Linked DNA regions of Homo sapiens: region 1 is linked to region 2. The links are contacts of gene promoters, found by promoter capture Hi-C in blood cells and fetal thymus (Javierre and others, 2016). All regions are on one chromosome and are shown on one strand. Each heading gives the region's core, a stretch centred on a gene start or on the middle of the fragment in contact. The rest is flanking DNA. Distances are from core to core; before and after follow the strand shown.

Region 1 (7,020 bases), core at 2,936-5,435, 310 kb after region 2:
CATTCTCAGATCTGACTTTACTGAGGTTTTTAGAACAGTACATACTTTTGGAAGATTTTATATATGGGGTCTGTACATGTGTATATGTATGTATGTGTATATATAGATACACGTATACACACACTGTGCACACTTGATTTTTTTTCACATCTGGAAATTTTTTATATCATCATTTTCTTATGTAAGTGTTAGTTATATGCTAGGCATTGTTCTTAAGAGTTATATGCTAGGCATTGTTCTGAATGTTTTACATGTACTGTCATTTTATCCTCAGTAGACCCTGTAAAGTCAGGATAATTATCCTAGGAAGTGGTCTCTTTTTGTTTAGCTTATTATGGGAAATTACAAGTATATACAAAAGTTCGACTAGTGTAATAGACTCTCATCTACCTATCACCCAGATTTACTAGTTATCAACTTAGAACCTTGTTCTTTCTAGCATTTAATAGTATTGCATTCTATGGATAAACAGTAATTTATTTCACCAGTCTTCTGTTGATGGACATTTAGATTATTCATTAAAAAAAAATGTAGTTCTGCATGTCCTTTTCTAATTATTTATACTCACAAGTATACCCACAGGGTAAATTCCTAGCAGTGGATTTGCTGCATCACAGAGGATGTACATTTAACATCTTGATAGATTTTTGTCAAATATCCCTTTATTTATTTATTTTTGAGACAGGGACTCACTCCGTTGTCCAGGCTGGAGTGCAGTGGCACAATCTTGGCTCACTGCAACCTCCGTTTCCCGGCTCAAGCAGTCCTCCAGCTTCAGCCTCCTGAGTAGCTGGAACTACAGGCACGAGCCACTACACCCAGCTCTTTTTTTGTATTTTTTGTAGAGATGGGGTTTCGCCGTGTTTGCCAGGCTGGTCTCAAACTCTTGAGCTCAAAGCGATCCACCTGCCTTGGCCTCCCAAAGTGCTGGGATTACAGGTGTGAGCCAGTAATCACCTGCCTATCAAATACTACTTTCCAGCCTATCAAATACTACTTTCTAAAGCCATTTAGTTATCTTTCCATCATAAGATGTTTATAATTAGATATAGTGCCTTGAAAAAATGACTTTGTGAGATAGCTTTAAAATAGAAATGTTATGGGGATTTCTGGAACAAGAAAGAAGATCAAGTGAATACCATGATAATTGGCTTCTGTGGGTTAAAAAATAGAGGTTCGAAAGTTTGAAGTTCATTATTCATAGAATATTTAAAATGTGCATTCTGTTCAGGGGGCTTTAATTCTATTAATGAATTTTGAAACAAGGAAATTGAAGTGGGTGGGGTGATCGTTTTTGATTTTTAGAGGATAGTTGTGGTTAGACTGAAGTATGTACAAAAAGATTCTGGGTCTCTGTATTTCAGGGAATGTTGTTTATGTGATTGGGTAGGAGAGAAATTTCTCAGTGAAGAGTGGAAATTTCCCATGCATCCCAGAATTCGATGTTTATTTATTGCGCTTGAGTTTAGTTGCCTAAGGGAATTGTAATAGAATGGAAGGAAACTTCCCGTCTGGGGTTCCCTTTCTGCCATGATGTGCACTGCATTGACTGTGCTTCAGAATGGTAATGGGGAGGAAGTCATTACACTGGGGTTGATGGAGAGTACTACTTTCTTGATGGCATTGGATTTCAAGTAAAACATTAAACTTTAGCCTTTTGTGCCTAAATTATAAGACAAGGTTAGGGAAGGATGGCAAGGAAATGGGAAGCGTTTAGAAATTTCTTTAAACGTCAGAATAGCCAGGGCTAGTTTAGATTCCTTGACTATTTAAAAGGAGATCCCCTTCTTCATGTTTGGCCTGAAGTTCTCCAAAAATATACCTGTTTCTAGTTTGATTCCCAACCCCCAACCAGCTAAAGCGGTTACATATCGTAGGACTTCGTTATAGTCAGCAGGGGGCACCCATTGCTTGTCTTCAGTCCAGGGATTTCCAATAAAAGGGTGGAAGAGAGTAAGTTCTTATTCCAGAATTGCTTCCTCTGAAAATGTCATTAAACCATTACTACCTTTCAGGGCATCAAATGGGAAAAGTGTTCAGGATATTGGAACAAAAGCTGCCCATGTCTCTAAATGAGGGACCTTAATGAGACTGGTTATGACCCACAGTTTTATGGGAGTTGTTTGGTGGAGGGTTAATGCCCTTCCATTTATCGTGGGTACTTCCGAACTTTGTCTCCCGCCCCTGTGGTCCCCCCTCTTTTGTTTCCTCTTAAACCTTTGACCACTAGCTTACCATGTTTTCCTAATTCAAACTCCCCTTAGACTTTTTTCTTCCTACCTTCTTTGGCATTTTTATTTGTTTCACTTTGACTGTTCCAGCTAGAGCTACATTCCCCATGGGAGAAATAAGGGATTTTTAAAAGAAGGAAACCAGACCTTGTAGAGTACTTATTAATTGTTGTGATGAACATTGGGAGGTGGTACTTAAAGGAGGATTGGAGGGTTACTCATTAGTTCAAAAGTAAATTAAAGGCTGGGCTCGGTGGCTGATGCCTGTAATCCCAGTACTTTGGGAGGCCGAGGTGGGTGGATCACTTGAGGCCAGGAGTTCGTGACTAGCCTGGCCAACATGGTGAAACCCTATCTCTACTAAAAATACAAAAATTAGCTCGGCGTGGTGGCAGGTGCCTGTAATTCCAGCTACTCAGGAGGTTGAGGCAGGAGAATCTCTTGAACCCAGGAGGTGGAGGTTGCAGTGAGCTGAGATCGTGCCATTGCACTCCAGCCTGGGCGACAAGAGCAAAACTCCGTCTCAGAAAAATAAAAGTAAATTGAAAAGTTCCTAAAAGCAAATGAGATGGTTTCTGGTGTCCTTTGAGTGTTTCCCTTCAGCCCAGTATATTTAACCAGACTTCTTTCCTTATTTCTTTATTATACTTTAGCTAAAGAAGCTTAGTTTGTTATTTGAACTCTTTCCTCTCAATAGATGACAGTTAAAGGAACCAAAGCTCTAGTGGACTTCATGTTTCTTTGGCTTAGGGGGTGGCAGAGAGATAATAGGGCAGAGAATGGTGACTCAGGTGAATTCTTACACATTTCTGAGGTTGTGGTTTAGAATATCAGTTTTCTCATTTTAAAAAATCTCTTTCTTTTCTAGGGCAGCAGAGAAGAAAGTGGTGAAAATTACATCTGAAATACCACAGACTGAGGTAGGTATTCTGCTCCCTAGTAGAACAGTCTCTACATTTCTCTCTCCCTCTTACCCTTTATTATATCTGCATCATCCTCTAAAATTTATTCACAGGCAGAAAATCAGTATTGGCAGATTTTGGTGTTGATACGTTTCACTGCCAGCTACTCTTTGGAAAATATTTGGCTGGCGTAGGGGTAGTCATTCTTGAAGTTGTAGTCTTTTTATATGTAATATTATGGTCTTAACAGTGACTCTCTTTGAGATGTTTTCAAACCTAGGATTAGATTTAGGAGGATTGTACCTTGAAAATGTATTGGTAGATGTGACTCTTATGTTGCTACTGGCCAGTAGCTGAGATTGAAATTTCTCTGGTTTCTGTGGTGCAGGACTGTGAAACCAGGTTCCATTTGAGATCTTGTGTTCAGTATCATACTTGCAAAGTAGAGAATTATTAAACTCTTTTAGAATGGCATAAAACAATGCTGCCTCATTTCTAACTGAAAGAATACCATTGGTGTTGGAACCAAGCTATTCCTTTGATCACTTTTCAAAGGTCAGCCAAACATAGCTTTTGACTTCTTGGCTTCATGCATAATGTAGGTTTTACTTTATTTCTCCCTTTTGTTTTTGAGGGCATCTAGTAATAGTCTTTTTTTGTTTGCTTTGTGGGAAGGGCCGTTAAGTCCTAGCATGGACACAACCTGATATCTTCTAGGATTGTCAGTATTTTCAGTTTAGACCCTAAGAAATTACTTCTGATGTTTTTAAGATACCTACCTTTGGCTGGGCCAGGTGGCTCACGCTTGTAATCCCAGCAGTTTAGGAGGCTGAGGTGGGCAGTTCACTTGAGGCCAGGAGTTCAATATCAGCCTGGCCATCATGGTGAAATCTCATTTCTACTAAAAGCACAAAAATTAGCTGGGCACAGTGGCACAGTCCTGTAATCCCAGCTACTCAGGAGGCTGAGCCACGAGAATCGCTCGAACCCAGGAGGCTGAGGTTGCAGTGAGCCGAGATCATGCCACTGCACTCCAGGCTGGGGGACAGAGTGAGACTCTTTTTTTTTTTTTTTTTTTTTTTTTTAAAGATACCTACCTCTGACTGACTTTCTTAAACCATAAATTGACTTTTTTTTCTCCCTTTTGTCTATTTTTACTTAGAGAATGCAGAAGAGGGCTGAACGATTCAATGTACCTGTGAGCTTGGAGAGTAAGAAAGCTGCTCGGGCAGCTAGGTGAGTGTCCCCAGCCTTTTGGGCCTCTGATAGGGGTGTTGTAAAGATGAAGATGTGTGATCCTAGCTTTTAGGTATAATTGTTGATTTTAAGTAGAATAGAGGCTTGCTGAAGGATATGAACACTTTTTTGACCCTATTCAGAACATGTCTACTGATTTGGTTATAGTAGCTATAAATTGAGCTTTATTGAGAAGGGTTTTTGTAACAGTTAAAGCCAGGAACTGACTACTACTAATTCTGATAAGGCTTCCTTTTAGCTTAATTTCTGAACCTCTTTCATGGGGTTGTTAGAATTAGCTAATGATTGCAAGGCTTGAGATCACAAGCAAGAAGTGTCATATGTATACTTGACACGGAGACAGACAAACCAGGAGTGTGAACAGCTTCCTAAAATTTAGTTTGTTTTTCCTTCTTCAGGTTTGGGATTTCTTCAGTTCCAACAAAAGGTAAGAGTACAGAGATACTTCTGAGAAAGTTACCTTTTTATTCTTTCTTTTCTGGTATAACAGGTTTTATTTCTCCAAAATAAGGTAAATTTGCTAGCTGTAGAAACTCTTTAAGAGATTGTAACATTCATCTCCTGCTTTAGGTAAAATTATACTTAGGCCTTCCTGGGCAATTAAGAGAGATACTGAATGTTATGAGAGGATAGGAAGTGCCAACATTTGTCTGTCTTTTCTTGAACATCTTCAAAGAAGTTTCTCTAGTACTTTGCTTACTTATTCTGGGGTCTCAACTGCATAAAATTATTGCATACTATCTAGTGTTATACTGGCTATTATAAGTGATAAAAGGGAAAAGAATATCTTCTACCTTAACAGTTTTACTTCTAGGAACGTATAAGGAAATAGTCTTGAATGTGCATAAAGACTTAGCCTCAGGGATTATCACAGCATTATTTATAGTGATCAATAACTGGAAACAACCAACTGTACAACAGAGAATTAGTTATTAAATGTGTGCCATGGTATAGCAGACTACTGTGCTGAAATAATATTGAAAGATATTTATCAGAGATATTAATGAAAAAAGTTACAAAATTATATTAACAGTACGTTCCCATTTTAGTCATGTAAGAGTGCATGTATAGATAGGAAAAAAGCTTGGAAGGATACATAGTAGACACTTCAGCAAGGTTTGAACTGCACAGGTCCACTTATACTTGGATTTTTTTTTTTTTCAATAAATACAGTTTGCTGTCTGTATCTGAGGGTTCACCATAACCAAATGCGGTTCAGAAATACAGTATTCTTGGGATGTGAAACCTGCAGATATGGAGGAGCAGCTTATATCTGCTGCAGGACTTGAGTGTGGTGGATTTTGGTATCAGCTGGAGGGGTGGGTTTGGATCCAATCCCCTGAGGAAATGGAGGGACGACTGTATTCTAAATTGTTAATACTCTTATCTCTGGTTGGTGGAATTTTGAATGATTTATTTCTTTTTGCTTGTCTGTGTTATTAAAATCCATACAATGAATATGTATCACTTTTGTAATGAATTAGAGGAAATTATTACTATTTTTTGAGACACAGTCTTGCTCTGTCACCCATGCTGGAGTGCAGGGACGTGATCTGGTTCACTGCAACCTCTGCCTCCCAGGTTCAAGCTATTTTCCTGCCTCAGCCTCCTGAGTAGCTGGGACCACAGGTGCGTGACACCATACCCAGCTAATTTTTGTATTATTAGTAGAGACAGGTTTCACTGTGTTGGCCAGGCTGGTCTTGAACTCCTAACCTCAAGTGATCCACTCACCTCTGCCTCCCAAAATGGTGGGATTACAGGTGTGCCGAGCCTGAAACAGTTATTATTTTTAAGAAACGGCTGGGTATGGTGGCTCATGCCTGTAATCCCAGCACTTTGGGATGCCAAGCCGGGAGGATCAGTTGAACCCAGGAGTTGGAAACTAGCTTGGGAAACAAAGTGACACCTTGTTTCTACAAAAAATTAAAAAATTAACTAGACATGGTGGCAGGTGTTTGTAGTCCCAGCTACTTGGGGCGCTGGGGTGGGAGTATCTCTTAAGCCTGGGAGGTCAAGGCTGGCAGTGAGTGTGATCTTGCCATGACACTCTAGCCTGGGTGACAGAGCAAGATCCTGTCTCAGAATTTAAAAAAAGGACAGGCTGGGCACGGTGGTTCACACCTGTAGTCCCAGCACTTTGGGAGGCCAAGGCAGGTGGATTGCTTAAGGTCAGGAGTTTGAGACCAGCCTGGCCAACATGGCGAAACCCTTCTCTACTAAAAATACAAAAAAAAAAAAAAAAAAAAAGCTGGGTGTGGTGTTGCGCGCCTGTAATTCCAGCTATTTGGGAGGCTGAGGCAGGAGAAGTGCTTGAACGTGGGAAGCGGAGCTTGCAGTGAGCAGAGATTGCTCCACTGTACTCCAGCCTGGGGGACAGAATGAGACTCTTTTCTCAAAAAAACAAAAAGAACATAGCCCCTTTTCTCAGGAACTTAAAACTTAAATGTAGTCTTCCAATTCAATCCAGTTTTCCCTGTGACTCGTCAGTAGTTTTAAGTAAGAAAATGTCCCCCAGAGATCTTCTTGTAGTGTTTTGCTGTGCTTTTAAAAAGACAGAAAAATTCTGGCCGCTATCACTAAGTGTTTTAGAAAAAAAAAATTTTTTTTCTGGCTCTTAGTTGCATCAA
Region 2 (6,973 bases), core at 4,278-6,777:
CGCCCGGCCTAGAGAAAGGGAATATTAAGAGCAACAGGTCACTCCTGAAAACATGGAGTAGAGGGCGGACAAGATTCAGTTGGGAGTATAGAAAAAAACCTGATGACTAGTCTTGTGTGGTAGAAGGTAATAAGTAGGGTTGGCACCTACTTCTGCTGGTCTGTGGGATTCTGGATAATGGTTTTTTCTCCATCGATGACATGCTGCTTCAACTGGTGTGACAGCATACCTGTAGATAGTACACAACCTATGGAACAAGCTATCCAGTATCCCAAAAGGTTTCCAAATCCACCCACTTCAGTAGTTTGAAGTGGTAGGCAGTGAGACAACTACCTGGTTATGGAAACACAGGGCTCTGAGATTTCTGGCTTAGACTGGGTTATAGCCAGGATAGATCTTCAAGGGAGCAAAAGCCTCAATTCTGCAAAGCCACTCATTCTTTTTTTTTTTTTTTTTGAGATGGAGGAGATGGAGTTTCGCTCTTATTGCCCAGACTGGAGTGCAGTGGCGCAATCTTGGCTCACTGCAACCTCCTCCTCCCGGGTTCAAGCGATTATCTCGCCTTAGCCTCCCAAGTAGCTGGGATTACAGGCACCCACCACCACGCCCAGCTAATTTTTATATTTTTAGTAGAGACGGGGTTTCACCATGTTGGCCAGGCTAGTCTCAAACTCCTGACCTCAGGTGATCCGCCCACCTCAGCCTCCCAAAGTTCTGGGATTACAGGCGTGAGCCACCGCACCTGGCAAAGCCACTCATTCTTAGACCCTCAACCCTGTTATCTGTTCTCACCTTCTATTGGCGTGCAGTTAAATGAGTGGGCAACTTTGTTCCAGGCTTCTGTCACTTGTGTGTTCTAGAAGTACAACATCAAATGAAAGGTGAGATATCAGGAGCTAATAAGTTCTCTACAATGAGAATAAGAAGCATAAAAGAACTGAGCGTTTTTTTTTTTTTTTTTGAGATGGAGTCTGGCTTTGTCACCAGGCTGGAGTGCAGTGGCGTGATCTTGGCTCACTGCAATCTCTGCCTCCCGGGTTCAAGCTATTCTCCTGCCTCAGCCTCCTGAGTAGCTGGGATTACAGGCACGCAACACCACGCCCAGCTAATTTTTGTATTTTTAGAAGAGACGGGGTTTCACCATGTTGGCCAGGATGGTCTCGATCTCCTGACCTCGTGATCTGCCCACCTCAGCCTCCCAAAGTGCTGGGATTACAGGCATGAGCCATTGCACCTGGCAGAACTGAGCGTTCTAATATCCTCCATCAAGCCCCAATGATTGTCATTCACTGGTTTTTCATTTCATAGCTTGATTATCCCTACAATCTAAAAATACTTTATACAGATGCTCCCCAACTTGCAATGGGGTTACATCTCCAAAAAACTCATAAGTTGAAAATATCACTAAGTCAAAAATGCATTTAATACCCCTAACCTACCTAACATCACAGCCTAGCCTATGTTAAATGTGCTCAGAGCACTTAAAAAACATTATCCTACAGTTGGGCAGAATTATCTAACACATGCCTATTTTATATTAGTGTTGAATATCTCATGTAATTTACTAAATACTATATGGAAAATGAAAAACAGAATGGTTGTATGGGTACTCAAAGTATAGCTTCTACTGAATGTAGCATCAAGCTGAGGACCAGCTGTAACTGCATATCATTTTACCCAGTGCTTTCACAAAGATGGTCTAACTCAATAAATTTTGCATGTGAACAGGGCAGATGTATATCCCAATCTAGAAGACAAGGAAACTGAGTCTCAGGTTAAATGATTTGCCCCAGGTTAAATGAGTGTTAAGTGAAAGAACTTGGTCATAAACCTGGGTTTTCTTTTTTCTTTTTGTAGACGGGTCTCGCTATGTTTCCCAAGCTGGTCTCAAATGCCTGGGTTCAAGCAATCCTCCCACCTTGGCCTCCCAAAGTGCTGGGATTACAGGCATGTGCCACCACATGCCTATAATATTAAGTCCAGTGTTTATCCTTTTTTACCTGGCATTCTAATCTGTTTTGTGGGGACAGCAAATGCTTATTTTTCCTTTTTCTTTTGTGAGACAGGGTTTCATTGTTGCCCAGGCTGGAGTGCAGTGGCATGATCATAGCTCAGCACAGCCTCAATCTCCCAGGCTCAGGTGATTCTCCCACCTCAGCCTCCCTGGAAGCTGGGAATACAGGCACATGTTACCACGCCCAGCTAATTTTTGTATTTTTTGTAGAAATGGGGTTTCACCATGTTTCCCAGGCTGGTCTTGAACTCCCAGCCTCAAGCTATCCTCCTACCTTGGCCCCCCAAAGTGATGGGATTACAGATGTGAGTCACTGTGCCCAGCTAAATATAGCTAATTTTAAAAAGCTGTTTTATAAGGGGTCTGTAGGGGAGGTTGGTAGTTTCATATAGAGTAGCTATAGGTGCCTAATGCATCTTTGGTTCAAACGAGCTTTGGAATTGGATAAAATAGCTTACCTGATTTCCAGGTTTGACCAGGCGTAGGGCAGCTTCAGCACAAAGGTGAGCTGCCTTAATAACATCTGCTTTCCTCCCTGTTACTTGGGTCCCCTGTAGATAAGGACATGCAATCAGTATCTTCCTGGAAAGTCTGTTAACTCAGCTGGCTATCTGGTTAATATCTGTGAGCCCATATGCGAAGACCAGCCAATGAACAGGAGGGTAAAAACAACAACAACAACAAAAACCTTTCTCCTTTTGCTTCTCTAGAGACTCTCTCAACTTACGTGGTGATTGGGGGTGGGGATAAGAAGCAAATGGCAGTGCATTCCCTCTACCCCAAGGCTAAACAGAGATCAAAAGCAGGCCACCTACCTGAGCTACATCAACCACAAAAGTGTGAGCTACATTAGCGATGAAGCCATCCACATGGACCCCAAGGTCACTGAAAGGCAAGATCAGAGTACTGCATTAGGAACTGGCATTTTGTAAATGCTTTAAAAAAAGAAAAATGCTTTAAAACGGTTTAACCTTACATTTTTACCAAGTCACCTTCCTTGAGAATATAATCCTGGTCGCTCTTCAAAGGGGAGAAGTGACATACACAGTTATTTACCGAAATGCTGGTGGGAAAAGCAATACCTGTAAAGAAAGAATCATCAGCCTACTGCCTTGCTGTCTCCCGGGAGCCCTAGTGCCCTTCAGAAATGTAGAAGGATTTTTTCAGGGTCTTGCTTAAGTTTCATCAGTTTGGATTAGGTAGGAAACTGCTTGTATCCCACTTGCCATTCCAAATTTCCAAATACCTCAGCCAGAGCTGGGGTGGGGACTGCGTCATTACAGTGAAAAAAATAAAAACATATAGGACCAAATAAGGGTCAAACGGAAAATTAGTGAGGGATTTTTTTTTTTTACCTTTCTTCATTTCCTTTTCTTTCTTGAAGATTTTCCCTGTTTCTTCCATAATCATGGCATCACCTTTCTCACACAGGCTCAGTACCGACACACCTGAGCTAGATGCTTCCACCAAGGACCGAAGTACCCCTGAGGACAGAATCCCATCATGTCAGCCTTGTATGTATTCATTGTCTAGTTACCACCCAAGGAATACCTGGAAGTTGAATTTAAGAGTTTCCATAATACTCCCTGGTGCCATTGCCCTGAGGCTGAAAGGTCAACATTCCCTTCTCTTCCTTACATTATGTGACAACTGGGTATATACAATCCATCTCCCTAGGCAAGGCCTCAGACTTTCCAAAGATGCTACCTTTGGTGTGACAGGACAGAGTTATGAACTTCAGAGGGTTCTTGCCATGGTATCCCCACATACACGCAAAGACTAGATGAAATTTATAGGCATCAGGGACAAGAAGGTAGACAGAATTGCTGACTCGAAGCCGATGCACTGTTAAATGTTACCGCATTCCTTTCTCAGACACTCTAATTAGGTGTTAGGAATCTCAATCTATATAGACTTATTTCCTCATAAACAAGTGCATAAGCCAAGGAAACTTAATCTAAGGTCCCTGGGTTTCATTTCGGGGGATCATGGCTTATCTAAAAGAAATATGAGGCCAAAGTTATAAACTGTAAGAGATTTTCTGATTCAAACCACTAGTATCTCAAATACTAAAAGGCACCAAAAACCAGGGTACGATACTAAATGTCCACTGTGATATAAAGCACAGGTTTGACTTTTGGTATCTCAGTTTTGGTGATTCTTTGAAAGCTGGTAAAACTCAGATTTTCACCCACAGGACGGGAGGCATCCTAAATACCTGTTCCCCACCATCTTTGCTGTTAAAACCATTTAAAAGCACAATGACAAGCAGTTTGTATCTCCCTAACTGGAATAAAATGGAAAGGCTAACTGGAAAGAGAGAAAAGAGAAAGTGGCATCTGCCTAGAGTGACAGGCAACTGCTGAGATCGTCAGAGCACACCTGGAGTAAGGATGACTTGTGAAAATCCTAAAATCAGTCCTCCCTTTTCCAGTAATGTTCACAAGCTTGCCTAGTTGGGATAAGACGGAGACCCCAAAACATTTGAGTTGTCAAGTCACTGAGAACAACAAATGTGAATGCTAACTAAGACTATCTGCACAGATTGGAAAGGTGGTAGTAATGAGTAACTTCAAGAAAAGCCATATATATCTCCAAGACTTGCATTAGAAGCTCCAGGAGTGCTCTCCAACGGTCTCCTTAGCTGGCCCAAGGTAGAAGGGGGCCCCCACCAGGGTAAGAGCTGAAGTAAAGAAGGAAAGGCTCCAGCAAAGCACGTGGTGGGGAAGCTGGTGGTGGGGAAGCTGGTGTCAGGGACACTAGCGGAGTAAGAAGGGGGCCAGCCATCCGCAATGGGACCCAGCAACACGTGCCGGCTTGGCTCCTGACGCCCCGGAGACGCTACAAAAACAGAGGGGCACTTCTGTCGCCAATAGCTGGGCGCTTCCTTTTCGAGGTGGCCTCGCCGCTGCCAGAATCAGAGGAAGCAATAATCGGGAATGAAGGATAGGAACAAGAGAAAACACGTCTTGCCTCCTAACAAACGGCCTCGGGTCGGAGCCTGCCAGGGTCCCCTCTCTGCGCTCATCCTGGTCGCCGACCCGCACCTCCATAGACTTCAGCCTGGGCCTGCCCGCTCAGGTCCCAGGCGCGACACCGGGTCTTCCCACCACGCCGTGCCCAGCGGACCGGTGCGGGCCCCTCAGTAGCTCAGTCCGCATGACCCCTCCGCTCCAGCCCCTTCCGGGCCAGCCTGTTACCTTTCCCTATCAGCCTTGATTCCCCGACCCCCGAGGCCGCACTCACTGTTGGCGATGTCGCCCCCCATCTTATACTTGGTCACGACCAGGTCCTCAGCGATAGTTTGCTCCTGTTGCTCGTCCTCGCCCGACATCTTCCTACTACCACCACTGCAGCCTCGTTTCCCCTGAGCCGCCGCCGCCTCTGTCTCCCTTCCCAGCCACAGGCTGTGGTCAGAGTCCCCTCGATCCTCGAGGAGAGGGCGAGCGAAAGCGCGAGCAAGCAAGGGAGCGGGCAGGCAGGCGAGAGCGAGAAGCTGCGAGCGCGCGGGCTGAGGCGCAGGGCACGCTGGGACAACTAGTCCTCTCGGCCGCCAGACTCTAGCCGCTCTCGAGGGCCTTCGAACTACAATTCCCAGCCTGCCTCTCGCGCTCCTAAGCCAGGCCCTGGGGCCTTGCCCTCCAAGGGCCTCGCACGCCGGAATCGCCGGGCACTCTGGGAAGGGTCAGGCTCCGGCGGGAAGGCGGAGCCGTTGGGGAGCTTGAGGGGAAGCGTGGTCTCTCCCGGAAAAACCACTTCCACCGAGAACGCTGAGCGAGAGCCAGTAACAGAGAGGGGCGGGCTGAGGGGAGAGGGGCGGAGCTACGGCGGGGAAATAGGTTTAAAGTCGAGCGGGCAGGGGTGGAGTAGAGTGGAGCCGCAGCGGGTGGGCAGTGTCTACACCTAGGTCGGGGAGGCTGGGTGCGCCCTTCTTCGGATCCCTGGGTCGGCTGGCGAAACCCGCCCAGCCGGTCCAGTCGTCCTCCGAAGCTGGGAGAACAGGGAGGGGCAGACAGGTGGAAGAAGACCAAGGGTGCTGGTAACGGGGGCTAACTGGGCAGCCAGACACCGGAGGGATCATCCATTTAAAGGCCTCGCAATCTAGAGGCCGGACTCCTAATGAAGTAACATGACTTTATTGTTCCAATAACAGGCACCTGGATGGAGCACCTAAGGGAAGTGTTCAGAAAGACATGTTTGTTGAGAGTTCTTACCGTGAAAAAATAAAAAGATTTGATGACTTTTCTAAGATAATGAATTCAGAAGCATCTGGAGGTTTCAGTGTTTGGCCTCTGAAGGAGGGCTTATAGGGCTTTTTATAAGTCCTAAAGCACGTAGGTTCTTTTTGTTATTCCCAATTGGTTGCCTTGTAGATTCCTACTAAAACCCTTAATGAAAAGGACTATGCGCTATGGTTGTTCTAAAGAAATAGAAGTAATAGTAGGACTAGAGAAAGCTGCATGGGACAGAGTAGCACTGTCAGAACACAGAAAGGTGAGTATCCACTGCTGAGGAGCAGATCTCTTATCTAACATACGAAATGTCTTCATTTGACAGACAGGAAGCTGAAAAAAAACTTTGGCATTTTTATTCAGACACGTATAAAAACAAAACAAAAAACTTCAGTGATACAACAGACGTTTTCCCTTAGTTCCCCATCCAAGGGGACAGAGGTGTGCAGCTGAAGCTGGATCTTTTTTCTGTCCTACCTGGAAGCTTCTCACTGCTGGATGAGAATGGCTTCTAAAAGTGGATCTTGGGGATCCTTGTGAATTTGCCCTCGGATAAGGAGTGAAGATCATTTACGGCACATGTGGATTATGGTTTACACAAAGATGTCCAGTTATTTTTCCTTCTGACTACCCCCACCACCACTTCCTGAGATGAGATGTCTAGGTATAGGAGGATGTGGCTGTTGGGGTTAGACTTGATTCAGTGCAAAAACAAGAAACAGTGCCC

Evidence for each region. Contacts are between HindIII fragments. The CHiCAGO score rates a contact against its expected background, and 5 or more counts as called.
Region 1: a fragment that was not itself captured here is called in contact with the fragment with the promoter of PA2G4 in region 2 in 2 of 17 cell types (naive CD8 T cells and erythroblasts); the score reaches 6.5 in naive CD8 T cells.

What each region holds. Positions count from the first base shown.
Region 1 is chr12:55,792,156-55,799,175 of GRCh38, reverse strand. SARNP (SAP domain containing ribonucleoprotein) reads left to right here. Exons shown (of 11, transcript NM_033082.4): 5 at 3,100-3,151; 6 at 4,296-4,369; 7 at 4,789-4,817. Among named protein-coding and RNA genes, the nearest start is that of SARNP, 22 kb to the left of the region's middle. RefSeq lists an enhancer at 456-957. The HindIII fragment of the contact is 2,580 bases long and covers 2,896-5,475 here.
Region 2 is chr12:56,103,113-56,110,085 of GRCh38, reverse strand. PA2G4 (proliferation-associated 2G4) reads right to left here and starts at 5,527. Exons shown (of 13, transcript NM_006191.3): 1 at 5,261-5,527; 2 at 3,370-3,498; 3 at 2,991-3,096; 4 at 2,830-2,899; 5 at 2,473-2,565; 6 at 793-856; 7 at 151-229. The coding sequence starts at 5,348. It overlaps ERBB3 (erb-b2 receptor tyrosine kinase 3), which reads right to left. Exons shown (of 28, transcript NM_001982.4): 28 at 6,581-6,973. It overlaps LOC105369782 (a long non-coding RNA gene), which reads left to right and starts at 5,667. Exons shown (of 2, transcript XR_944995.4): 1 at 5,667-5,798; 2 at 6,168-6,272. RefSeq lists enhancers at 5,253-5,472, 5,483-5,832. The HindIII fragment of the contact is 2,269 bases long and covers 4,464-6,732 here.